Linked DNA regions of Homo sapiens: regions 1, 2 and 4 are each linked to region 3. Evidence: promoter capture Hi-C in 16 types of primary human blood cells and fetal thymus (Javierre and others, 2016). All regions are on one chromosome and are shown on one strand. Each heading gives the region's core, a stretch centred on a gene start or on the middle of the fragment in contact. The rest is flanking DNA. Distances are from core to core; before and after follow the strand shown. Region 1 overlaps CHN1 (chimerin 1). Region 2 overlaps CHN1 (chimerin 1). Region 3 holds the start of CHRNA1 (cholinergic receptor nicotinic alpha 1 subunit). Region 4 overlaps CHN1 (chimerin 1).

The links. The method cuts DNA at HindIII sites, captures the fragments that hold promoters and counts their contacts. A CHiCAGO score of 5 or more calls a contact.
Region 1: a fragment that was not itself captured here is called in contact with the fragment with the promoter of CHRNA1 in region 3 in 2 of 17 cell types (naive CD8 T cells and total CD8 T cells); the score reaches 5.1 in naive CD8 T cells.
Region 2: a contact is called between a fragment that was not itself captured here and the fragment with the promoter of CHRNA1 in region 3, in 3 of 17 cell types (total CD8 T cells, naive CD8 T cells and naive CD4 T cells). The highest score is 6.3, in total CD8 T cells.
Region 4: a fragment that was not itself captured here is called in contact with the fragment with the promoter of CHRNA1 in region 3 in 2 of 17 cell types (total CD8 T cells and naive CD4 T cells); the score reaches 6.5 in total CD8 T cells.

The regions. Positions count from the first base shown.
Region 1 is chr2:174,829,088-174,835,576 of GRCh38, reverse strand. The region is part of intron 7 of CHN1 (chimerin 1); the gene reads left to right. Among named protein-coding and RNA genes, the nearest start is that of CHRNA1, 68 kb to the right of the region's middle. The HindIII fragment of the contact is 591 bases long and covers 3,189-3,779 here.
Region 2 is chr2:174,878,755-174,885,841 of GRCh38, reverse strand. The region is part of intron 5 of CHN1 (chimerin 1); the gene reads left to right. Among named protein-coding and RNA genes, the nearest start is that of CHRNA1, 120 kb to the right of the region's middle. RefSeq lists a silencer at 6,987-7,087. The HindIII fragment of the contact is 3,859 bases long and covers 1-3,192 here.
Region 3 is chr2:174,760,346-174,766,729 of GRCh38, reverse strand. CHRNA1 (cholinergic receptor nicotinic alpha 1 subunit) reads left to right here and starts at 2,258. Exons shown (of 9, transcript NM_000079.4): 1 at 2,258-2,378. The coding sequence starts at 2,336. RefSeq lists an enhancer at 1,758-2,257 and a silencer at 4,555-4,849. The HindIII fragment of the contact is 3,214 bases long and covers 55-3,268 here.
Region 4 is chr2:174,862,676-174,869,823 of GRCh38, reverse strand. All of the region lies in intron 6 of CHN1 (chimerin 1), which reads left to right. Among named protein-coding and RNA genes, the nearest start is that of CHRNA1, 100 kb to the right of the region's middle. The HindIII fragment of the contact is 1,770 bases long and covers 4,201-5,970 here.

The DNA of each region.
Region 1 (6,489 bases), core at 2,235-4,734, 68 kb before region 3:
AAATGAACACAACATCAGTGACCAGTGGGACAATAGCAAGCAGTCTTAACATAAGTGTAATTTGGGTCACAGAAGGAACAGTGATGGGAAACCAGGAGACAGAGCAATTATTTAAAGCTATAGTGACCAAAAATTGTATAAATTTGATGAAAAGTCACAGATCCAAAAATGCAGTGAACACTAAACACTAAACAGAAAAAAATATGGTGAAAGCAACATCAAGGCATATCATAAATTGCTGAAAACCAGTGTTAAGGAGAAAATTGTAAAAGCAGCCAGAGAGAGTGAGAAAATTTGGGGAAAGAACAGTTTTCACTGTAAAGTGATACCGAAGGCCCCTGGCTTACAATGGCTCAGCTTATGATTTTTGACCTTATGATGGTCTGAAAGCAATATTCATTCAGTACAGTCCTGGATTTAGGATTGGATTACATCTGGATAAATTCATCATAAATTGAAAATATCAAAAGTAGAAACCCCACTCTCAACTTATGATATTTTCAACTTATGGTGGGTTTATTGACATGTAACCCCATCATAAGTCAAGGAGAATCCATACTTTGCCTCAGCCTAAGAATTGAGGTTGTTCATCCCACACGTAATGTACAGAGGATGTCTCTCAGATCTAGAAATTATACATACGTTTGGTTTCTCTTAAGTTTTATTTTCACATTTCAGCTTCATAATGTGTTTATAGTTTTGTGGTTTTATAGAATCTTAAATGTGCATACTCACACTCAAGAATACAATGCACATTTGTTTAAAAGAATATAAATTATTTTTATACTACTATCTTCTCTGTTAATATCTTCGAGGATTATTTTAGTTAGGACAGATATGTCAACTTTGAGGAAACAAATTATTTTCCTTTTTCACTGGTACTCACACATCTTACAAAGTTTTTTTTAAAAGCAGTTGGGGGGATGCACATTACATAAAAATGAATAAAGAATGGCAGCAAAATTCTCATCAAAAACTATGCAAGACAATGGAGTGACATCTTCAAAGGACTGAAGGAAAAGAAATCTATTAACCTTGAATCCTATATTTAGCAAATATATCTTTCAGAGATGAAGAGAAAATATTTATTTTTTTAAACAAACAAAAGCTGAGTGAATTCATCCCTAGGAGACTGGTACTACAAGAATATTACAGTAACTTTTTAAGAAAGAAAATGATACCAGGTGGAAATTTAGAACTACACAAAGGAATAAAGAACACTAGAAGTAATAGTAAGCATGGGTAACTTTAAAAGATATTTTTCCTGACTTAGTATCTTTAAAAGATAGTTGACTCTTTAAGGCAAAAATGGTAATATATTATGTAGTTTATACAAGCAAAATGTATGACAACAGTAATGTAGAGTAGAGGATGGGGGAAGTGGAAGTATATTCATGTATAGGATTCTTGGGCATTACATAAAGTGGTATACTATTTGGAGGTAGACTGTAAGTTAAAGGTGTATATTGTAGACTGGGCATGGTGGCTCACGCCTGTAATTCCAGCACTCTGGAAGGCTGAGGCAGGAGGACAGTTTGAGCCCTGGGGTTTGAGACTAGCCTGAGGCACGTGGCAAGACTCCATCTCTATTTAGAAAAGAAAAGAGAAAGAGACAAAATTAGCTGGGTGTGGTGGCACATGCCTGTGGTTCCCACTGCGTAAGAGGCTGAGGTGAGAGGATCACTTGAGTCCAGGAGTGTGAGGCTGCAGTGAGCTATGATTGTGCCACTGCACTCCAACCTGGGTGACAGAGTGAGACCCTGTCAAAAAAAAAAAAAAAAGATGTGTATGTTCTAGACCTTAGAATAAAACTAAAATTGACATAGTTAAACTAACAGTGGAGATAAATGGAGTCATAAGAAATATGCAGTTAATTCAGAGTATAAAACATAAAAAAAGGAATAAAGGACAAATGGAATGCATAGAAAACAGGTTGATAGTTACATTAAATGAAAATGACTCAAACACACCATTAAAAGGCAGAGATTGTCAGGTTGGACAAAAAAGCAAGATCCAGTGATATGCTGTGTACAGGAAACCCACATTAAATATAAAGGGCACAGAGAGAAGTGAAAGAAAAAGCAAAATTCTCATCAGAAATTATGCAAGACAGTGGAGCGACATCTTCAAAGAACTGAAGGAAAAGAAACATTAACCTAGAATTCTATATCTAGCAAATAATATGTATATGTAGACAATAATTCAAAGAAAATTGGAGTGACTGTACTTTTTTAAACACAATTTTTGAACAAGGAATATTATTGGGAATGAAGAATGTAAAATTAATCAAGAAGATATAACAGTTTAAAATTTATATGTACCTAATAACAGGTGCAAAATACATAAAGCAGCAACTGAGGTGAGGGTGAAATAGACAGAATATACAGAAAATTAGTAAGAGTATAGAAGACTTGAAGAACAGTATCAACCAATTTGACCTAACTGATATTTATAGAGTACTCCACTCAACAACAGCAGGATACACATACTTTTCAAGTGAACTGGAAGATTCACCAAGATACATAATATTCTGGACCATAAGACAAATATAACCATGTGTCATATAACTGTTTCAGTCAACAACTGACCACAGTTATGACAGTGGTCCCATAAGAGTATAATACCTTATTTTTACCCTGTCTTTTCTATGTTTAGATACATTTAGATACACAAATACCATGGTGTTAATGTTACATATTCAGTACAGTAACATGCTGTACAGGTTTGTAGCCTAGGATCTATAGGCTAGACCATTAGGTCTAGTACATAATAGGTTTTACCATGTAGATTTTGTGTAAGTACACTCTATAATGTTCACCTAATGAAGCATTTCTCAGAGAGTGTCCCTATCATTAAGTGACACATGACTGTATCAATAAATGTAGAAGGGTTAAAGTCATACAAAGCATATCCTCCAACCACAACAGAATTAAATTTGAAATCACTAACAGATATCTGAAAAATTTCCCACATACTTATAAATTAAATAACATACTGCTAAATAACTCATGGGTTGAAGAAGAAATCACAAGATACATTAGAAAATATTTTGAACTGATTGAAAAGAAAAATAAAACATATCAAAATTCATAGAATGTGGCTAAAGTAGTACTTATCAGGAAATTTATATCATTAAATGCTTATATTTAGAAAGGGAGAAAAAAGGTCTTAAGTCAAAGAGCTAAGCTTCCATCTTAAGAAACTAGAAAAAGAAGAATCAATTAAACCAAGTACTTAAGGAAAGGCAGTATTAAAGGTAAGAGCAGCAATCAGTGAAAAAGAAGAAAAACAGAATTTTTTAAATCCCAGAATTTACTGGGATTTTAAAAAGGGTTTTAACTACATACTTTTAATAACTTCCTGTGCATTTTAGTCAGATCTTTTTCTTAGTATAGGAATACTTGCATTCATATTGTAATATATGTTAACAGTACTTCTTCAGATGACACTTTTATAACCAAGTCAAAAAGAAATTGAAACCTGGTTGTGTGGAAATAATATATTAATGCAGACTTAGCTTCAAAGAATTGTGGATCACAAGACATTGTAGACTGGTCTGAGGGTTTTCCGTATGTCAGTGTTCAGTTACCTATCTATAATGTAGGTATAGAGATTTTCTGTCACTCAGCTATGGAATGTAAGTGGTTTTTATTGCACAACCATTTACTTATTTATTTTCCTATTGTACCTACATAATATAACCTTAGGGGACTGGTATTTCAAAGTGTTGATTTTTACTAATATTTGAATACGAACTCATTCATCTCAGTAATGAAGCTTACTTTCTAAGTAGAAGTGTTTTAGGTGATGGCATTTAACATTTTTGAACCTTGAGCATGATTCAGTTTGGAGGCAAAACTATCAGGGGAAAAGAAATCAAAAAGAAATTGTCTTCTGAAACTTAAAAGAAGCCTAAACATTAAAATTATATATTTTATAATACTCTAAATACTCATATTTTGAAATGGAAAATGTCTTTGAATTAATGGTTATATTTATTGTTTCATCATTATTATACAATCTGTACCTTGTAGCATATAATAATCAAAGGATTGCTTTGAGAACTTTGATATTTCCACATCCAGATTCTTGGGTTTCAGATTGATGGTTCTGTGTAAGGGGCCACTATTTCAGCTCAGCACAGAACATCAACACCAGAAATTGTGTTTGTGTTCTAGCATTAATATGGTTGTTTATGATTCTAAGCAAGTTCTGTGCAACCTTTGCATTCATTTTGTAATTTTAGATATACTTCTCCCTCAAAAACATAGCGGTGATTGGGAATGTATGGATCATAAAGGAAACCATAAAAGAATTTAAGCTCTGTTAATAAGGCCAATATTGAATTGTGGTAAATGTATTTTTATGAGAATAATTTATTTTTTCTGCACATATTTAAAATATTGTTTTGTATACCAATTAACATAAACCATTTTTATAATATTCATATGGGAGCAGAACTAAATTACTGTATTGCCCTGGTGACTGTCCTAATAGTCATATTGTTATAGTATGATCATATTTTACCAGCTTTTCCCTGTAGTTATTGCTCACAGTTAAAGTTACATCATTTATTTGTGGTATGGTCAATGTATGTCTAGTAGGCTTTTATGGTATTTCTCTCAATTTTGAACAGTTTTCTTACTCTTAAAATTAGGTCACCAATTTTCTGTCATTTGTCATTCTCTTTGAAGCGGTGCTTCCGTGTTAACTACTTGTGTGGTTAAGTATGTGGCGCAGAAAGACCCTGCAAATTCTCCCGTGTGGCCACCTCTATAGCAGCTGGTTATACAGGCCATTAGCACCTGCGCCCCTTCCCCAGCCGCCTAGTGCCTCCCTCACTCCTGTCTGCTGCTGGCCAGTGGGCATGCCTTTCTATTCCAGGTACTTAGCCTTGGCCAGTGCTTAAAGCTATGTTTCAGCAAGTGCCTGGTGCATTTCTTCTGCCTTTCCTGCCATGGTCATCAATTACACATCCATTTGATCAGGACAAGAAGACTAGGAATGGCCAGCATAGTGTCAGTGCTTAACTGACATTATCGTGGTGCTTAACTGAACCAAAACCTCGCTCTTTGTTAATACATTATTACTCCAGAGTTATAGGGTGGTTAGTAGTTTTGACTAGACGTAACTTAACAACAAGGCAAGAAGGTATTGCCTTGATACTAAAGATACTCCTATAGTAAGTATTCCTCCTAATTTAAGTACTCTTGTATGTATTTCTTGCTAATGATCATAGCCAGTGTTATGTATTCTCTTTTCACGGCATAATAATATAAATCAAAGTACTTTAAACTGAAGTGGTAAAATTAGGGTATGATTTTTTTATTTTTTATTTTTTTTTGAGACAGAGTCTTGCTCTGTAGCCCAGGCTGGAGTGCAGTGGCACGATCTCGGCTCACTGCAAGCTCCGCCTCCTGGGTTCATGCCATTCTCCTGCCTCAGCCTCCCGAGTAGCTGGGACTACAGGTGCCCGCCACCACACCTGGCTATTCTTTTGTATTTTTAGTAGAGATGGGGTTTCACCGTTGTTAGCCAAGATAGTCTCGATCTCTTGACCTCGTGAGCCACCGCGCCCGGCCAAATTAGGGTTTGATTTCTAAATTCCATATCATATGGACCAAAAAGTTTAAGACCATCTTGGTGAGACAAACATTGGTCACCTAAAAGAGTGCATTCTAGTTACCCTAAACATAAAAATGAGGGAAGAAAAAACTTTCCTGACCAGCTGCCTGCCTACCTACATTCCTTTCGTTTTGATTTTGTTCATCTGTTCTCTCCCCTCATCACCCAACACTGTGCTGGAGAACTGACTCATCACAGTCCCAAATGAGAAGCTGCAGCTGAAATGTCATTGCCACCTTCCCAAGCAAAATTTTATTTCCCGTAATGTTCATATCATCTCCAACGTGGCTTACATTTGCAGCAAGCTTTGCAGGCATGCTCCTTGGCTATTTGCATTCATGCTTATTTCTAAAGGGAATGTTTTGACTTGAAAGGAACAATGAAGATTAATGGTGAATTTTTCTTTATCTTCCTATATCATGGATTTCTTTTTCAGTTTCTGTTACTGGCTTTCAAACTGGAGATATGAATGCTGTAAACATGATGAGAAGCAGGGTGTTTGTTTCCTTTTATAAGCCAGGATTTTAGTCTGAATAATGGCAGGCCCAACTGAGAATGACTTCAGTTTTTATCTAAGTCATTGCCCAGGAGACACATGACACTTGGCCTGTGCCATATGGGCCCCTCAATAGCCCACCCTTTCCCACCCTGTCCTTTGCAGCCTGCTTCTGACCAATGCCTTCACTGATAAGACTGTACTGGGGATCCGTTAATTAATCCAGTCTTTCATCTCTGTTTTAACAGAGAAGTTAATGTGAAAGGAGTTGTTCACAGGTTAAAAGCAATCACAAATGTCATGGTAATAAAATGGTCTTTTTTTTCCAGTTGCACAAGAGGGCTTTGAAACTAGTTCGTTTTGCCCTT
Region 2 (7,087 bases), core at 14-2,513, 120 kb before region 3:
TGGTTTAGTAGTAAAATGAAACATAGTAGGTAGCACAAGTTACTATAATTGGCTCACTAAATTAGAAAAGTTGTTTGTAGGCCAGGCTCACGAATGTAATCCCAGCACTTTTGGAGGCTGAGGCAGGCAGGTCACACGAAGCCAGGAGTTCAAGACCAGCCTGGCCAACATGGCAAAACCCCAACTCTACTAAATATTAGCTGGGCTTGGTGGTGCACGTCTGTAATCCCAGCTACTCGGGATTACTTGAATCAGGGAGGTGGAGGTTGCAGTGAGCCAAGATTATGCCACTGCACTCCAGCCTGAGGTCAGGGAGACTCTGTCTCAGAAAAAAAAGAAAAATTGTATATCACTTATTTACTCCCAAATGTCAATAGAAAAAGCAGCTTCATATTATATAGGTCATCACACTAAGACCATTATGGCTCTGTAAATGGCAAACACTCTATCATGGTAATTATCACTTTTTAAATTATGTCCAGCAAAACTACGGTAACCTGATTATATTTTGGCAGTTATATGTAATTTCTCTCTCTCTATATATATATATTTTTTTTTCTTTTTTTTGAGACCGAGTCTCGCTCTGTCGCCCAAGCTGGAGTGCAGTGGCGTGATCTTGACTCACTGCAACCTCTGCCTCCCGGGTTCAAGCGATTCTCCTGTCTCGTCCTCCTGAGTAGCTGGGACTACGGGCGCCTGGCTGATTTTTTTTTTTTTTAGTAGAGATGGGGTTTCACCATGTTAGCCAGGATGGTCTTGATCTCCTGACCTCGTGATCCGCCCACCTTGGCCTCCCAAAGTGCTGGGATTACAGGCATGAGCCACCGCGCCCGGCTAATTTCTGTGTATTTTCAAAAATTCTTTTTATTGTTACATATAGCTAGCTAACTTAGGGGAAACTATTTATGAAGTCTTTACTAATTCTATTCCACTTACTTAGGAGGCATGATATATGCCAAGTACTATGCCAGTCTCTGGTGCTTTAAAGTAAGTAAAACTAATAACCGATTCTTAAGGACTCATAGGCAATAGTGAACCATTAACAATTTTCAAGAGGGAAAAATCATGTGATAGGATCCCTCAAATGCATAATATTAATTATCACAGTATGTGTCCCGTAATTTTTTCTGTTTTACTGGATACTTAATGTGGGTTTGGCCATTTATGGATGTTGCTGCCAGATGTATATATATGCTGGTACATATAATCACACACATTGTCTAGGATATTACCTAGGAGTAGGATTTATATGTTGTAGGGTATGTATATATTCAACTTTAGTAAATAATACAAAACCCCTTTGTTAAACAATATTGCAGGTACTGGTTATATTAACTGCTCTGTATCCTTGCTGGTACTTAGTATTGTTAGGCTTGTTAAATTTTGCCAGTCTGAGGATTTATTTGCAATTACTGGACTATTTTGTGAGCACCAGTTCTTGGTGTAGGTCTGTTTTCATCCATTGTGTAAATGTGTGTTCTTCCATTATAATAAAATTTTTTGAGTTATCGCTTTGATTCCTTTCCCTTCCATTTTGTCTCTTCTCTCTTTCTATAAATGTTAGACTTTCAGGCCGGGCTCGGTGGCTCACGCCTGTAATCCCAGCACTTTGGGAGACCGAGGTGGGTGGATCACGAGGTCAGGAGATCGAGACCATCCTGGTTAACATGGTGAAACCCCGTCTCTACTAAAAAAATACAAAAAAATTAGGCAGGCATGGTGGCGGGTGCCTGTAGCTCCCAGCTACTCGGGAGGCTGAGGCAGGAGAATGGCGTGAACCTGGGAGGCGGAGCTTGCAGTGAGCTGAGATTGCACCACTGCACCCCAGCCTGGGCGACAGAGCGAGACTACGTCTAAAAAAAAAAAAAAAAAAAAAGAAGTTAGACTTTCTGGATTGATTCTCTATCTTAATTATTTTCTCTCCTTTTTTTTATCTTTTTGTCTTTTTGTTCTTTAAAATTTTCTCAACTTTTTTAAAAAAACTTTCATTTATGCTATATTCCTTTTTCTACTTATTTTTCTATATATTCTATATTCCTTTTTTTTACAGGATTCTAATGTTTTTTGGTTAAATTCTATTCAAGAATAGGAACAGGAAACATCTTATTTTGGGTTTTTTGAGCATATTTTCATTCCCATGCATGATTTTGTTTCCTCTAACTTGCTTTGATTCTGTTTGTTTATCATAGTCTTTGTCTTTCATGAGGGGAGTTTTCCTCAGATGTCAGGTGGCCCTTGGCTGACTGCTCATATTGAAGCATATGGGACCCTAAAAGGCTGGCTAGTAGTTCTGAGAGCTTGGAGGAAGCCTGACAATTATAGGATGATGGTCTCTACTCTTAAGTCTTTTTTTGTTGAGTTGATCAGATTTCCAAGAGTAGAATCTTTCAGTCTCCTATCAGGAAAGGTACAAGCCTTCCGATAGCCTCATGGTGAAGAGAAATGGAGGTATCAGTTTCTTTAGTATTTAAATTTTGGGTATTTAAAACTTTCACTTAGTTTTCAAGATGATACCTCTGCTTGTATTCCCTCAGTTCACTATCTCCCTGTTTTATCCTGCCTAGAAAACAGAACTTAAGTCTTCTGCCATGGTGGTGAAGGGATAACAATAGGGACAGGATTAGGGAGGGCAGGAGGAATATCTAACTGCTTTTTAAACGGACTTCGAGTTAATCCTTCTATATCAGTTCTACCTTCCAGAGCTATGTGAGTTCCACTGTTCAGAAGATGGCTTCTTTGGAAGTTTAGTTAGGCAAATTGGATTTCTTCTTCACTGAAAATGATTTATTTGGCCAAGGAAATATCATTATGTGTTGACATAATTTAATACTTTTCTCCATAATCCAAAATTGTATAGCAAGATAGACAAAAGTCATAGCCTGACAAAGTTTTGGATGGGATATCATTTTAATGTTGTATATAACTATGCTCTCTCTTCCATAGCCTTCCTTAGTTCATAGAATTCATCTAAATTTATTTTGTAGTACTTAATCGAATGCATCATCATATTTTATTTCTGTTTTAAATTTTCTTCCAAGAGTATCTTATGATTGAATGAATGTATATTTATATTTCACCATTAGATTAGCTTTTTTGACTCTGGTAAACAACAGACAAATATATATTTATGATAAATAAAACTGTTTTTGTATGTTGGTTGCTGGAAATACTTCTAACATTTTATTGTAAGCTTAGACGAGTGTGTTGTATATGTTTTGTTTTCTGTTTGTTAACACAAAACATCTGTTAGCTTGGAGCTTTCCTTTGAAGAGATCCTTTCAAATCACTTTGGCCTCAAATTAGAATTAATTCTTGGTTTTGCATAAAGTAAAGTAAAATTCCGAAAGCTATTCTGTATATATTTTGTCATCATTTTTTCTTCTAGACTGAATTTTTTGTCGATATGATTTATTTGCTGAAAAATAGAAAAGATGGTATATTAAGGATTTTGTTTATTTTTAAAAAGATGTTAGAATTGTATATCTTGAAATGCATCTGAATGCATCTGGGCACAGCATTAAACAGCTTTTTAAAATAGGAAACCCGAAACCTGGAATCACTGGAGAAAGATATTCTTTCTAGAAAGTGGCATTATGTACAACAGTAGCAGTTAAAAGCCTTTCTTTTCTATTTGTTTACTATAGTAACACTCTGGAGAAAATGAATTTTCATCTTGCTGAACTCTACCTAGGTGAGAGTTGGGCCTATGCAGCTTCAAGTATGTTCACCAAGGAATAAACAGCTATTAAGCAAGGGCAGAGTCAGATAATAAAAGGAAAAGATGAAAAGAAAATTATCTTATAAAAGTCAAAGGGAAATGATTTAGCCTCAACAGTTTTTACAAATCAATGCTCTGTAGTCTAGGGTTCAGTAGCTGTCACTAGGTCCACTTAATATGTCCCGCTTTCAATATATGTAAATCTCTCAGCTTTCTCCTTTGAATTCAGAGGCCTCATTCCCAGGACACAGTGGAAAGACCTTCTTTGCTTGCTCCTCCTACCCGATTTGCACTCTGTTGTCTTCCCACTCTATTTAACCAAGTGGCAAATACAAACTTATTCAGAGACATCCAGGAGAAAATTTCACAAAGAGCTCCTCCTTGCCTTTTGTTAACTGTAAAGTAAATCAGTGCAGAGATGTTCCTGTACAGCCAGTGTTGCCAGTTATTTATTTAGCCATCTTCCATGCATATCTATTGAATATTTTTGCTGTTTTACTTTAGTGTTGGTAACTCATTCTGTCATTCTCTGCAGGGGCCTAAGCTAACAGAGAAGGAGAAAGGGAACTACCACTCGAGCCTACTATATATATTTAGCTTTGACTTAAATATCTTCATGTAATCCTCACAGCCATCTGGGGTAGGGTGATGTTATTCCTATTTTTTAGATGCAGAATCTGACGAATGATTTCCCCAAAGTCACCCAGCTAGGAAGTGGCAGATCCAGGATTTAAACTTACAACTGTCTGATGCCAAAGCCTAAGGTTTTCTCTTAAACATATAGGACCCACATTTGCCTTCCCTTGGCCAAACCATATTTCAAGACTACAGGAGAAGACTGCAAGGATGCTTTTGTACTTGGACATAAGCAGTAGCTCTGAGATCTTATGTAAGCCTAATTGTTGTGCTCTGTTTTACTAGGCAGTGAGTTTCTTGGTTTTATGGTATGAGGGAGATACTGGATTCACTTGGTTTTGTGAATCACTTTACAGAATCTTTCTACATAAGAGCAAGATTCTATATGTATATAGTTATTAAAATAGATCAATCTGAAGACGGACTTTTTTTTTTTTTTTTGAGATGGAGTTTCACTCTTGTTGCCCAGGCTGGAGTGCAATGGTGCAATCTTGGCTCACCACAACCTCCACCTCCCAGATTCAAGCAATTCTCCTGCCTCAGCCTCCGGAGTAGCTAGGATTACAGGCATGCGCTACCACGCCCAGCTAATTTTGTATTTTTAGTAGAGACAGGTTTCTCCATGTTGGTTAGGCTGGTCTCAAACTCCCGACCTCAGGTGATCCGCCCGCCTCAGCCTCCCAAAGTGCTGTTATTACAGGCGTGAGCCACCGCACCCGGCAAGATAGACTTTTTTAAATTTAGCACTTTGTGTATTTGTATTGACCTGTTTTATCTTTTTACCACTGGGGTTACCAAGCGATAGGAACTCTATTGTGAACCACCTAATACTTGACAGTAAAGTACCTGGATGTTTTGTTAACTATTTGTTGAATAAATGACAGTCTGCAAGCAGTGAACTTCAAGGAAAGAGTCTTTCTTTGACCTTAGATTTGGAATCTCCCCCTTTATGGCTCTTCTTATGTAGAATGGGCACATCCATTCCCACCTTTCTCAAAGATTTTCTGTCTTCTTTCTCTTCTTCTAATCCCACAAAGCACAATATGCCTTTCAGATAAAGAAAGTGGAGAAATCTTTGACAGTCTGTGCTGTGGTGCTGTTCCTAGGTAACTTCCCAAGTAAAAGAGAGTAGTTCAGAGTAGGCCAGGAAAGCTTGGCAGTTCTCTTAGTAAAATATAATGCAGTTTTTCTTTAAAAAGATCAATCATAATTCCAAAATGGAAATTTTTTATTTTTACCCTTTGAAGCAAAGTTTTAATCAAACCATGTTATAAGTTTTTTGGTTATGTGATCATCTCCCTTTAGACTGAAAGTTTTATTGGATTGGAAGCCTGGAGCTGAAGTACAGGCGGAGCAGGAATTGGAAATTGTGGGCAGGGTCTCCTGAAATCACTGAGTTGAGAAAGAGAAAAGGATAAATAGGGTTTTTTGCACAGCTCCTTACAGGTAGCCAGGCCTCTTCTTGGATGAATTAGGCATCGTCCATTGGAAAGAACTAGGAAGTTAACTCTAGACTTCCTAGTTCCTAGTCAATCAAACCATTCCCAGTGCAGCCATCTTCCCTTCATGCCCTGTGCCCCCCATACTTCTCAGATTTCAAAAGGCAATTGAGTACTAAATGACTGACACCATTGCTTGGATTGTTTTTAAGTTCTGTATCCACTGTAGAAATGCCCACTGTAAAATCGTAAGTCCCAGCAGGAGTAAAATGGTCTGAGCCCTCATTGAAATGTGTCTGATACAACCGAAATATAAAGGGACTCAATGCTATGTGTGTTTATTATTGTAGGAGTCTTATAAAAGCTATGGAGTTGCTTTCCATGTTGCAGATAATGTATATTAGAAAAAAAGGAAATGATGAAAGCAGTATATTAAACTGAAAAACTTTTATATTTAACTTTGGTGTAGAAATTTCACCTGTCTAATTTTTTAGGCTTTATAATGAAAATATACTTGGGAGAAATGTGTCTTTAACATTAGAGGAAAATGGAGAACAAGAAAGTGTAATTATATGGATAGTTCACTTAAGTGTAAATCAAAATTTGATTGTTACTAAAGGATGGATAAATTATGCTTTAGAAGGGCCAACATGGATAGTACGTTGGATTCTAGATTAAATTGTTATTAAAGTCTAATTTGAACTACAGAAACAGACATCGTCTGGCTATTATTTTAAAAAATATTTTATTTCCTTTCCATACTTTATTTCCACATTAAGATGTTCCTAACTCCTATTCATTTGGAATATAACCTATACCAGAACAATTTTGTTATATAACAAGTTTATAGTCCCATTTAACGCTTTACTTAAACAGCGTTTATTTTAGTATTTTAGTTCATCCCTGTTCTGTTGTACTTTTAACAATGAAATTAAATATATCCTTTGTGACTTGTTTAGTTTTTAATTAGTCTCACTCGGGGTTACCTTCAGGAGACCATTACACTGGCAGCTCTTGTTGCCTTGTTGCCTTTTGACATCTGCTTTCATTAAAGTCAGTGCATTTTCTTGCCTGTGTCTTCCTGCAAGGACACTGATGTTAATCATGCCAAATTGGATCCATTTCTGAGGTCTGCTGCAGGAAGCAAAATACTGAAATTATCATAAAAGTAAACCATTATTCTTCAGTTGTTAGAGCACATCATCAGAACATAAAATTGAAAACAGAATTTCTATAGTCCAATAGCTTATGACTTTTGTGCCGTATGTATTTCAAACATTTCTTGCACAGACCT
Region 3 (6,384 bases), core at 1,009-3,508:
GCCTGGGTTAATGAACTCTTTGGCAATATAATTCCTTCAAATACTGAGTAAGCTTCTGCAATATTTGTTTCCATCATTCCCATGTGCCTATATACACACATGGTCACAATTCTTTAATCTGATTAATTTCTTTGCATCCTAACCACTATACCTCTCTCCTTCAACTTAATAGCAGCCATCTTGAAGCCATCTGAAAAAAAAAATAGATTTGGCTGTGAAGAAAGCACCCTTAAAGTGATCTTTGCTGTGGTGATGAAACTGCCTGTTTAAAGAGAAGTCTTAACGGGCTTTGGTTGCTCAAAGCCTTTATTCCATGTTTTCACTTACTCTTTTGAAGTTCAAAACAGAAGACTCCACATTTCTGGACTCATTCTATTTCTTTTCATTTCTGCTCTTGAACCAGCACATTTTTGCCTGAGCTCAGCTCTTCCTTGTACTGACTTGCTAAACAAAGCCAGAAAGAGCCATGGTGCACTAACTTTGGGTTTACCAGCCTCTATTCTGGGAGCTACAGGCTCAGTAGACACATTGTTCACCAAGTAATTGAGGACAACAGTTTATGAAATGATTTGATACCATATAACATGGGTCTTCATATTTTCAGCCTCCAGTATCAATTTTCTTGCCTTCTGCTGCAGTGCTACATATTTTAGAATTTATTTTTAACCTCAGGATACTAGTGCAAAGGATTACATATTTTATTAATTACGGAACACTAGCTGCTGTACAAATAAACCCAAGGATTTTGATGGCTCAGCACGATGCATGTTTTGTTTTCATTGAAATAGTGCTGGGTGGTGAGCAGGTGGATAGGGGGTCCCCCTCCATGCAGTCATTCAAGGATTCAGAATGTCAAAAGCAACACCACCTTCAGAACATGGTTTCTAAGGTTAACTTTGGGACCATGTCCATTCTAGCCGGTCAGAAGACTAGAAGGGCGGGGCTGAGCTCTGGTAGGTTTGTGAGTCTGAGAACATTTTTCCACTCATGCCACTGGCCAGAGGTCAGTCCCATGGCTCCATTTAGATGGAAGGGGCTGGTCAGAGGGTGGGGGTTGTATTTCTGCCACGGGGCTATTCCATGGAAGGGAGAGAACCAAATTTTTTTTTAGCAAACAGTTAACTGATCTCCCACAGTTTAAACAAAAAATATAAATAGTATGAGCTTGCAGCTCTCTCCTCTACCCTCCAAGCCCCTTCTCTAATGATTTGTTTGGATCCACTGGAATGAGAGGATCTGTCAGGATGTTGTTGTGGGCTTGAGGTGAGAGGACCTTTCTCACCTAGTTCCATGTGGGAAGGAGGCCTGGAAGGAACAGGCAGGGTACCTTTAAGTAACTGTCTCCTTCTGGGAACTCACCTCACACCCTGCAAAGAAGCACAGCTAGGGTAACAATACTTCTCAGACTGAGAAATTACTAACTGCTGGTTTTTAGGATGTTTTTCAAGCAAGATAATTGAAAAGCTGAACCACTCTGCTCTTTGCTTCCCTGAGTGAGAGTAGGCAGAGGGACGGATGGAAGGAGGCAGGAACCCGGAACGACTGCTGATGCGGTGGGACACTTTTTCCCAATAATTACTCTTCGCTTGAATCACAGTGCATAGGACGTGGGCAATTTGCTCCAGCTAATGGTTCGTGTGGGATAGGTATTGCCTGATACAGAGGCAGGGGTTGGAACAGCCACTCTGGGGGCCAGTAAAGCCAGTTTTATGGAAGAAGCTGTCTTTGTTAAAAACCAAACCCAATCAACGTGGGGGCTTCCCAGCAGCAGACTCAACACCAGCTACACTTTTCTGAAATCCAGGCAGTCAGAAAAGCCCCCGGCACCCTCAGCCTAACACTGAAGCAGAGGAAATGAAACTGAAGCCATGTTTGCAGAATGTGGATTTTTGTGGTTTAGGACAAACAGCTGACTATCTACTCAGACCAAATGACCCTAATCAAGTCAACCCACAGAGATGAGGTTCTGGTTTACACAAAAGAGAGGCAGTTTGCTCACCATTTAAAATAATTCCTTCCTTCCTATACATTTTTTTTTCATTAAGATCTGACTACTGGTGCATTTAAAATATAATGCAGTTCATACTCAGCTTGTCAAGGGTAAGCAATTGTGTAAAGTGAGGCATATCTGTAATGGTGTACAGTCCCAGTAACTCCCTGGGCTCCAGGGCTGAGGGCAGCCCAGCTGTCGCTCCCACAAACAGGTGGTGTAAAACAATAGCTCTAGTGAGCCGACTCGCTTTCCAAACCCTCCAGCAGACAAGCACCCAGCCAGAGTGCCAGTGAGAAGCACAGGCCACCACTCTGCCCTGGTCCACACAAGCTCCGGTAGCCCATGGAGCCCTGGCCTCTCCTCCTGCTCTTTAGCCTTTGCTCAGGTAAGTGCTGGGGTCAGGGGTGGGGAGAGGGCTCTCCTTTGAGGCTAAAGTGCTGGAGGCCCCCAAATCAAAGTCTTGCTTCTTTGATGAGACCACAGAATGGCAGAGCCTCCCCAACCAGGGGCTGCTCTGTCAGTTTCTTCCTGATGTTAGCTTGATTGAGTTTTTGGATAAAGATTTTTAGTTTGCCTTATCTAATTAAAATAGAAACTGCCTGGTCAAAGACTTCAAGATAGACACGCATGTCTCTCCCTCCATCATGCCTGGCAGCCGACTCATCCCTCTGAACACTCGGCACCATTTGTAGGACCTGGACCACTTGTGGATCATGGTAGTGTCCGGGGGTTCATATTTAAACAACTATGGATACTTAGAACAGTGCCTTATAATCACATACAATGGAGTTAACAAGTCCCTTTACTGCTCCAGGAGAATTCTAATAATAAAGAGGACTGATTGACAGCTACATGTGCTGGAGATAGAAACCAGTTAATAATCATAACTAAACTCTCTCCACAGAGACAAATATTTTTTAATTTTTTCAAAATTTCTGAAGTTAAAAAAAATTCCATATGAATACATTCCTACCTACTTTTTTTTTTTAAGATGTTACTATATATAGGTTTGGGTTTGAATTGAAACTATAAAACCTTGCACAGCATTTGACCTGCATTCTACTCTGGAATGTGTCCTAACACAGCAGCTGAAACACCATCCTGAATCCCAGACTTCCGCTAGAGGGAAACAGGAGATGTTTGCTGATTGCTTCACATAAAAGTTTACTGGTGATATCATCCCAACTGAGAAACAAGGTGGCTGACATCCTGTGATTTTTCATTTCCAATATTGCTCTGAAAAACACAGGCCTTCTGGTCAAGAGGCAAAAAGCTTTATTATTAATTTTTTTCAATATCAGAGTTGAGTGAAAGAGCCTAAACTCAGATAAATTATATCATGTGGGATTTGGACTCTGTCCAGCCAAAGCTGGCCTGATGTGTGTGTGTGTGTGTGTGTGTGTGTGCGCGCGCGTGCACACACATGCGTGCACGCAAAACCACAGTCACAGGAAAATTCTTAAATGATATGCTTTAATGTAAACATCCTTAAGAGATCTCTTAGGATTTTGGTTATTGCTAACCAAAAATGCATGATTAGCTATTAAAGAAGTATGTGATATGTATTTAGGTCAAATCTCGAGTTTGCTGGCATTGATTTCCATGGGTGTTTTATAGAAATTTAGAGCTAGATCAGGCAGTCCAACATCCTCAATTTTTTATTACAAGGAAACTAAAGCTGACCTGCCCAAGGTCACTTAATTTATACATTTTGGAATGTGGTCAGTTGGAGACTTGGTTTATTACATGCACAGTCAGAAAACACAGCCTGAACTAGCCAAAGGTAGCAAGAGATACAGAATCAGGTTAAGATAATAATGATCCATGGGACTAGTAACAGTTCAAAATTTCTTTTGCCCAGCCCAGGGAGCTATTTCCTACATACAAATACAAATGGAACCAGTGTGGTACAAAAGGAACACTTTGAAACTGTGGTTGAGTTTCCCTTCTTAGAATCAGTCCTTTGTAGACAAAATTGTCATTTATATCAGGGACTCTTTTCCTGTGTTAGCTTAACACAGCGTGATCTCTGTTCTATTTATACAGCACTTTTCATTTCAACTTTTTCTTTTCTTTGCCTCTGGAATCTCAAGCACTTCATTGCCGTCTTTCTTACGGCATATCACTTTCCAACTTGTTCACAGTTATTTACGTAAATGACAAATGTCAATCTCCATGAGGGTAGGAAGAAGGATTCAGTTTTGAATATCTCGAAGCTCCCAAAACAATGCTTTGCTTACAGTAAATGCTCAACAAATATTTCATGAATAAATTAATGTTACCATCATCTGAATAAAGATTACAAATATAATCTTGCTAAAAAGGGGAATTTGACATTATTTAATTTTTTATTTGCATATTTGTTTATTTACACCCTACCTTTTTACAAAAGTATTTACTGTGATTCGTTGAATCCATGAAGAACTAATCCAACTCTCCAGGCCATATGGGAGTTGGGAAGAGAATCATAGAGTTCTGACTTTGAGCCCTGTGAGTTTTCTATCACTCTACCCTGTGCTGGGGAGGAAAAAAGAAAAGAATACCAGTGAACCAATCTAAGAAATGAAGCCCTCCTTCCTTAGAAATTCCTTATGGAAGGAACAGGCACCTTGTTATTGGCTAGGGTGGGAAAGGAGGAGGTGACTGTCTCTGAAATGCTGATTATGTCTGCTTCTGTCATCCTCCCCTTCCTCTTAGTGGGCCATAGGGTTGGTCTGCATAGTTCTCCTGCTACATAATGCTGACCATCTGCTCTGCCCTCTGCTTTCTAATATGTTCTTCCTGTCAAACTGGAGTGAACAGTCATTTAAAAATAAGCAGCCCAAGGCAAGGCCAAAGCAACAGCTTCAAATTCAATGGCCAAGGTGCTCAGTAATCCATTCCAGTCTGCAACTCCACCATGGGATGGATGAGGCCCAGGATAGAAAATGCATAGAGGACAGAAGGATTATCAAGTCCCAGGGGCTCAATGGGGTGGTTGCAAAAACGGAATATTCAAACAACATATTCCCTTCAAGAGTCCTCAAATGCAGGTGGCTTTAGGGAAATGTCATGTGAAATCTCTGCGTGGTTGGGCACTGAGTGCCCTTGGAACATTTTGGGTTCAGAAAACGTGTGAAACTAGCCGGGTGAGGTGGCTCTTGCCTGTAATCCCAGCACTTTGGGAGGATGAGGTGGGTGGATGGCTTGAGCTCAGGAGTTTGAGACCAGCCTGAACAATGTGGCAAAACCCCATCTGTACAAAAAATACAAAAATTAGCTGGGTGTGGTGGTGCGCACCCAGGTAATTTTTGTATTTTTTATAGAGATGTGGTCCCAGCTGCTTGGTTGGGGGAGGCTAAGGTGGGAGGATTGCTTGAGCCTGGGAGGTCAAGGCTGCAGTGAGCTGTAATTGAGCTACTGCACTGCAGCCTCAGCAATAACCTGCGGAAAGGGGAGATCTGGTTACGTGAATGAAGGCAAATGTATCATGTGTCTACTTCCTCTCCCAGCTCTGAACACACAGTCCCCAACCCACGGAAGGCTTGAATTACAAAGATCCTTCATAAGACACTTGGGATTTGGAACACATTTTCTCATAGGAATAGTGGCACTTGCAGTTCTGAGTTTCCAGGACAGCTCACAACACACTGTTAGTACCAAGAATTAGCCCAGAAGCTCAGCACAAAATGACAGGATTCCAATCTGAGCTTTGCCCTTACTGGTCACATGACCTTGGACAAGTGGTCCAACCTCCCTGAATCTCAGGTAAGAATGTCTGCCCTCCTGCTTCATCTGTGGCTGATGAAGATTGAAAAGGGGTGTAGATAGAAAAGGGGGCCGTGGGTTCTGAGAGTATTAGATGATATTGCTCTCTATACTGAAGGAAAATGTAGTAAAGATTCCTTGGAATCGCTTATGTTCCAACTAGGAGCCCCAAACCCAGGTCAACAAAGCACAGTTTTCACTCTATTTTAACAACTTAACTGGGACATGGACCTGCCAGCAGTGATATTTTAAAAAATCGTGGTAAAATACCCATTTCATAAAATTTACCATTTTAACCACTTTAAAGTATACAATTCAGTGGCATTAAGTACATTCACATGTTATAAGACCATCACCACTATCTATTTCCAGAACGTTTTCATCATCCCAAAGGGAAACATCAAGCACATTAAGGAGTCCCACCCGATCCCTCTCTCCCCCCCAGTCCCTGGTAACTCCTGCTCTGCTTTCTGTCTGTATAGATTTACCTATTCTGGATGCTTCATGTAGATGAAATCATACAATATTTGCCCCATTGTGTCTGGCTTCTTTCACTTAGTAAAATGTTTCCAAGCTCCATCCATGTTGTACCATGTGTCAGTACATCATTCCTTTATTCCTTTTTCATGTCTGAATAATAGTTC
Region 4 (7,148 bases), core at 3,836-6,335, 100 kb before region 3:
ACTTTAGAATGGCTTTGGGCTGCTGCCTAAGTTCATAGTGAGAAAAAAGCTGTAGTCCTCATCCCTTGAGAAAGTTCTGTTTTTATTTATAATGTGGAAACTCTACAAATGAGCCCATGTCTCCATGTTTCCAAGAATTTTTAAAAAGATAACTTTTTAAGGTATAATTTACATACAGTAAAATGTGCACAGTTCCATGTACAGTTTGATGAGTTTTGACAACTGTATGCACCTGTATAACCAACCCTACAATCAATATATAGAAACTCCAGAAAATTCTCTCATGCCCTCTTGTAGAAAATCTTACCCCCACCCAGACCCCAGGATTTCTATTAGGACAAGAAAAATTTTAAATTGTTGACCTAACAGGTGACATCTTATTTTTAGTTTCTTATATTTGAAGTACTCCTTTCTTTGTTTTTCCTCTTTTTATTTATTATAAGCATATCATCTAATTATCTTTAATATCTACCTTCCTTAACTCCAATTTTGGAATGTAAACTTTCTCAGGTCATTTTTCTTAGGGAAATATGAGCAGCAAAGGAATTAGAGGTGTATAGTAGTGATTACAAGGCAGTGTAACTTGTTGAAGTTCAGTCGTATCATTAGGGAGTCTTCACCTTTTAATCAGTAATAAATGCTTCAGTAAATTTGAGTACACAACAAGGGAGGATTCCTGGGTGCAGGGAGAAGAGCCTCTGCTCTGTTGGGATCTTGGACCTGAGCCAGATTCACTCAGCCAGCCCTCCTTTAATCATTGACTATACCTTTGCTCTTCCTCTCTGGCCTGAACAGGTCCCCCAGCAGGTGATACTCATGATCACAGTTGATGGGAAAGTAGAGCATCCCCTGCTCTCTGAGTGTGAACTCTACCTCATGGTACCAGGTACCACAGTGAGAAAAACTATCATTTCTGCATTTCCCTCTCACAGTCTAACTCAAATGGGAAAATTATGGCAGTTGTATGATTTCAGAGTTTCCTATGGAACACCACTACAACATTTAGATTTCTCTCCTTATGCTCCTTGAAACTATGTAGGTGCAGCCCACTCAACTGTCCTGTAGAATGGAGTTCTCCTTTACCCATTCCCAGGTGAAGAATGACATTCTCTTGTGTAGCAGCCTCCCATGGGTGGATTGCGGGTTGTGTAAAATTCCTGGAGAAATGATTATAACTTTTCTCCTGTTGCCTTTAGGAAAACCTATTGGAATGTAATTGTTTGAGGAATGTTACTATAGGCAGAACCTTGACTTCATTCTAATTTCTTTTAAAAAGATTAAATTATTTGCATATTAGTTTAGTAACTGATTTCAATGCACGTTGACTGGAGTGGGCCCTCCAGTGATCTGGACTTGCTCTCTAAGGAAGCAGCCATTAGGGGCTCAGCAGTCTCTTCTTGTGACCTATCTTTAGAACTCTGCATGGTTTATTGGCCATATTCTAGAGGTGTAGTGTTTCTTAAGGCTGGGAGCACCGGGAATCTATTGCAGAGAGGAGGGTACCAGAGTACCAAAGTAGTAGAAAATTGTAGAAATATTTCATTTGCACTGACTAACTCATCATGTTATGCCAACATGTGTAGGTGATATTTGTGAGCAAGTCCAATTATATTATCTAAAACTGTTCTTAACTTTCAAAACAAATCATGTTGATATATCTAATTAATAAATTTAAGATATTTTTCCAAGTATTAAAGAAATACAAGCTCTTCATAAAAAATTAGAAAGATATGAAAAACAAAGAAAGAAGGAAGGGGCTTACTTATAGCTCCACCATTCAAAGCCAACTTTATGTTAACATTTTGATGAGTTTCCTTTTAGTCTGTCTTCCTACGCATAGATTAATGTACACTTTTATATTTTTATTTTAAGTAACCCATGTTCATTGCTTACACAAATAATAAAACTATGAGAAACAATAAGAATATAAAAATTAACCCAGGTCACACTATTGACAGATAATATAACTAATAATATTCTGCTGTTTGTCCTTCCAGAGTTGGGGGCAAGGAATGTTTCTTCTATATAAACTACTTTGTAATTTGCTTTATCGACCATTAGGCTATGAACAATCTTTCCATGTGAATGTATATATATATCTGCTTTATGTTTTAAATGTCTATATTATATTACTTTATAAGCAGGGAATTTAGCTAGTCCTTTAATTTTTTTATTCATTCATTCTTTCAATATTCATTATGTAATGAACAAGACCATCATGGCTCTGTTCATAAAGTTAATTTTTGTCATTCACACCCAGAATACAAAAAAAGAAACTTAAATATTATTTGCATCATTTTTAAAGATGAGGAAATTGGAGTAGAAAGAGAGAAACTCTTCTTGCCAGGACATTTTGTTATTTAGTGATTGGTAACCAGTACTCTTTTTCCCTATACTGTCTATGTTTAACAATAAATCTTCCTGAAGTAATCTTTTTTTTTTTTTGAGACAGAGTCTCGCTCTGTCACCTGTGCGGGAGTGCAGTTTGACACAATCTCGGCTCACTGCAACCTCCATCTCCCGAGTTCAGGTGATTCTCATGCCTCAAGCCTCCCGAATAGCTGGGACTATAGGCGTGCACCACCACGCTCAGCTAATTTTTTTGTATTTTTAGTAAAGATAGAGTTTCACCACGTTGCCCAGGCTGGTCTCCAACTCCTGAGTTCAACTGATCCGCCTGCCTTGGCCTCCCAAAGTGCTAGGATTACAGGCATGAGCCACTGCTCCTGGCCCTTAAGTAATCTTTAAAAAAAAAAAAAAAAATTAAGTAAAAAAAAGTTGTCATTTTAACAGTCTTTGTAAGTTTAGAATTTTGTTTAGTCTTGCAAAATGGCTTTTTCATTTGTTTCCAGAATATTTAATGCGCTAAAAAGCAGCATTTATTTATAAATAAGGATAACTAATAAAAATTTAAATTTATAAATTAATTTCTTTCGGAGATAATTAAAAACGTGCAAATTGTTTTTCTTGGAATAGTCTGTATCTTTAAAATTATAAAACTATATGAGAGAAACATTTTTCTGAATTTGCTGAATATAGAAAGTTTGTACTTTAGCTTCATATGTAATCATAGTCAAGCTTGTCTACACTTTAGAGTTGCCCAGTTCTAAATTCACAAAGTATTTTGAGAGGAAAGGATTTCCATAATTTCCATCTGCAGTGTGCATAGAAGGGCTTAGCTGAAATTGTTATTTAAACCAGAACTATTTTGCTATCTTGTGGCTATAGCATTCTAATTACCAAGTATTTCAATGTGAATAGTGAATTCCCTTTGTCACCTTACAGAAAAAACCCCCACAAAATGCCTTTCCCTAACTAATGAATATGAAAATGCTTTTTTTTGGAAGCAGTGTTACTGCAAGGGGATGGGTTTTTTCTGTGTTTTATTTTTAAAAATCATACAGACATTGATTATAAATGTTTTTAATATTACATCACTTTTGATTTTATACAAAAATATTTTAAACTTTTAAGCTCATTTATTTTTCTTTAGAAAAAGGTACTTAAACAGTAATGGATCTTTAATGTTTTATCTGGTGTTAAGATTCCTAAAAGAATTTCTATAGTCCTATATGCTAAGTGTTTGGTCATAGCTTGGAGTGATCCACAGTATCTGGTTCTTTTTCTGCTATTCTTTTCCTCCCTTAATTTCTTAACTTTTTGAGATTTGTTTTACATAAAGATCCACATTTACTCTTTAAATAGAAACACTTCAAAAGCAGCTTTATCACATGTTATGTCCTGTTTATCCAGCAATTCCCTCACACACAGAAAAATAACCAACTTTTTAATGGGGCATCTACTTTGAAGAAGAGATCTGGATCCTAGTCTGTCACTTTAGCTAATGATTTTTGCTTTGAGCATGTCTTAATAACCTCTCTGGGCCTCAATAGTAAAATGAAGGACTCAGCTTCATAGATGACCACAAGGTCCCTTCTAGCTGCCATAATTTTCTACCCATATGTTCTTTTTGTTAACCTTTAAGAGGTTTTTCCGATTAAAGATTCTGTACTTCTGACAACTTATTCCAAGAGGTAGAATAGGCTGAACACATACAGGTTTAAGTATAGACGTGAATACTTAAATCTGCTACTGACTAGGATTATAAATCTTTGAGCCAATCAAACCATTCCCTTTGGCCTTAGAACATTGAAAGTCTGTTCTAGCTCCCTACTATACATTTCTAAGGATTGTAAAGCTTAGAATTATAACAGAAATAACTAACATTTATTGAGCATGGTGTTTCAGAAGCTGTGCGAAGTACTTCACCAGGTTATCTCCTTTAATCTTTAATGCAGTCTTTTAGGGATAGGTATTAACATGGAGATCTTTGGGGGTGATAGGTTTATGGTGAATTATCAAGATATTCTAGGGGGCTGTCTTAATAGTGCATCCTCTATTTTTGGGAGTGACATCATAGAGGACAGCCAGACCCTTCCACACAATGCCCCTTAGTATCATTGTAGAGACTTAATGTTGGACTGAATAAAGACTAAGTAGATCACTATCTTTTAAGTAGTTAGTTTACCAAAAGGGAGTAGTACCTCTAGAGCTGCCCAAAGGAAGTTGAAGCATGGTTCAGATGGGCCATTAAAGAATGTCACTCTAGAATTGCAACTCTTATGTTCCGTTTTTTAAATAAACTCTTACCAAATGCTGAAGGAACGAAGATTCCAATTCATTGAATAAGAAAACCTATGATATCGAATTTTTAATGTAGAAAAATAAAATATCCTTTCTTAAAGTGTAGCTTAGTTCTCTCTTAGTTGCTTATGTCAAATGCTGTCCTCTCTTCATGAAGTATCACACAGATGTACAAATTCAAATAATCTTGTTCCTTTCATAGGAACAACAACAATAAATAAATAAAGGATTTAGACTTAGTGGTTGTGTAAATTACACATAAGATTGCACTAATTCAACAAGTGCATTTTATTTTATTTTTATTTATTTATTTAGAGACAGGGTCTCCATCTGTCAACCCAGGCTGGACTACAGTAGTGCGACCTTGGCTCACTGTAGCCTCAATAACTCCTGGACTAAAGCAATCCTCCTACCTGAGCCTCTGAAGTACTGGTACTACAGGCATGCACCACCATGCCTAGCTAATTTTTTTGTAGCGATGGGGTTTTGCCATAGTGCCCAGGCTGGTCTCGAACTTCTGGGCTCAAGCAGTCTGCCCGCCTCAGCCTCCCAAAGTGCTGGGATTACAAGCATGAGCCACTGTGCCCAGCCAGAACATGTGAATTTTAAATAGCAGTATACTTAGTAGAATGAGATACAGGTAAATTTTTAAATAATTGAGCCATATTAAATGATTAACCTAATTTATTTGCATATTAATGAAATCTGATAACTAAGATTTATAATATAAGGCATATTGCATTTATTATATTTTAGATAAATCAGCATACATTTACGTCTTCAACAGTTGACTTAAACTCAGTTTGACAGTTTTAGGTTTTCATCATTTCAGTCTTCAAAGTGCTTATTAGCATTTCATTGTCAAAGTTGAAGCATCCCTAGCTCTTTGAAACTGACAAAAGACCTCTGAGTTGACAGTCACCTCCCAAATAAACAAGATTTTTAAGATAGTTGAAGTGCTTTCCAAATCAATACTCTAGAGTCTATATGTAACACTTACTGTAGAGAGTTTATTATTATTTAGAAGTTAAAAAAAAGAAAAAGAAAACAGAAGCAAACAAACAGAAACCCTCTCAGGTCTTTAACACAGTTTGTCAGTTTATCATTTTCTATGTTATCTCTCAGAAGAAGAGAAATCAGTAACACTGAAAGATTAGCATTTCATAACTATAAGAAAAAAATTAAAGATGGTCTTACTAATGCTAGTACTTATGAGAAATAAAATAAGTAGAATAAAACTTTAAATTTGGGGGAAGTTCTGAAACATGCAGTGATAAATAATTTTTTATTAAAGTGCTGACGATCAGTGTTCTCACCAATGAAGCTTTCTATAAAATTGAGATATCTGCAGAAATTTTGATTCAGTATAATCAACATGGAGCCTAAACATCTGTATTAATGTATTTATCTTTCTATCTACACATCTATATCACATGTGTGATTCTGTTGCTCAGTAAAAGTTACAACTGATAGATTAGATATGCGGTTCTGAAGCTTTTTGGAGTCAGGACCCCTTTACACTTTAAAAATTACTGCAGACTTTGAAGAGCTTTTGTTTATGTGGGTTATATCTGTTGATATTTACTATATTGGAAATTAAAATATATTTTATAAAATATCTTTAAGAAACAATAAAAATTACATGTTAACAATATTATTAAATAACCAATTTTTGAAACAAAAAAATTTAGAAGAGTAGCAGTGTTTTACATTTCTGTGAATCTCTTAAATGTATGGCTTAATTTTAAGGAAATGAAACTGGGTTCTCATAAATGCTTCTGTGTTCAGTCTGTGGTGATACCAAACTGGACAAGTAGTAATTTCTTAAAGGTTACTTGCAATGTGGAGTCTGAAACCTTATTAATAGCCATTTTTTACTCTGTTACACTGAAACCCATTGGTCTATTGAACTTCAAATGGATCTTTCAACTGTGCATGATTTTGAAACATCATGCATTGATCACTTGTAAAATATTGGTTCACTGAGTTACGTAGGTCTTCCAAATGTTGACATATTTTATACAATATCAAAAAGTCACATTTGTTAGTATCATCATTGATCTTACCAGATAACTCATTGAAGTAGTAGGAAGCTGTCAAGTTTAGGGTGGCAGATACAAATTTTCCAAAATTCTAATTTTACCTGAAAGTTTTAATTTTATCATTGACTGTCAGTTGTTTCCTTGAGGTAGCCAGAGCACTTCATTCATTTTATAGAAAATGCCAAACACCCAAGGCTGAACAACCAAAATTTGTTTTACTCATTCTTTCATGTAAAAAAATGGTACTTCTGTGGGGAAGAGTGCTAGCTCAGCTTACTACTAAAACAAAGAATACTTTTCCTCAAGACAACCATCTCTAAAGGGAACCCAGAAATACCTTTCATATCTTGTGATGTGAACCTAACTTTCTCTTTTGGAGAGGTTTTCAAATGTGGAAGTGTAAAACTCTAAATTTAATGTAAGCTACAGGAGAAGAGACAATGAAAACAAACAAAAAGCCTA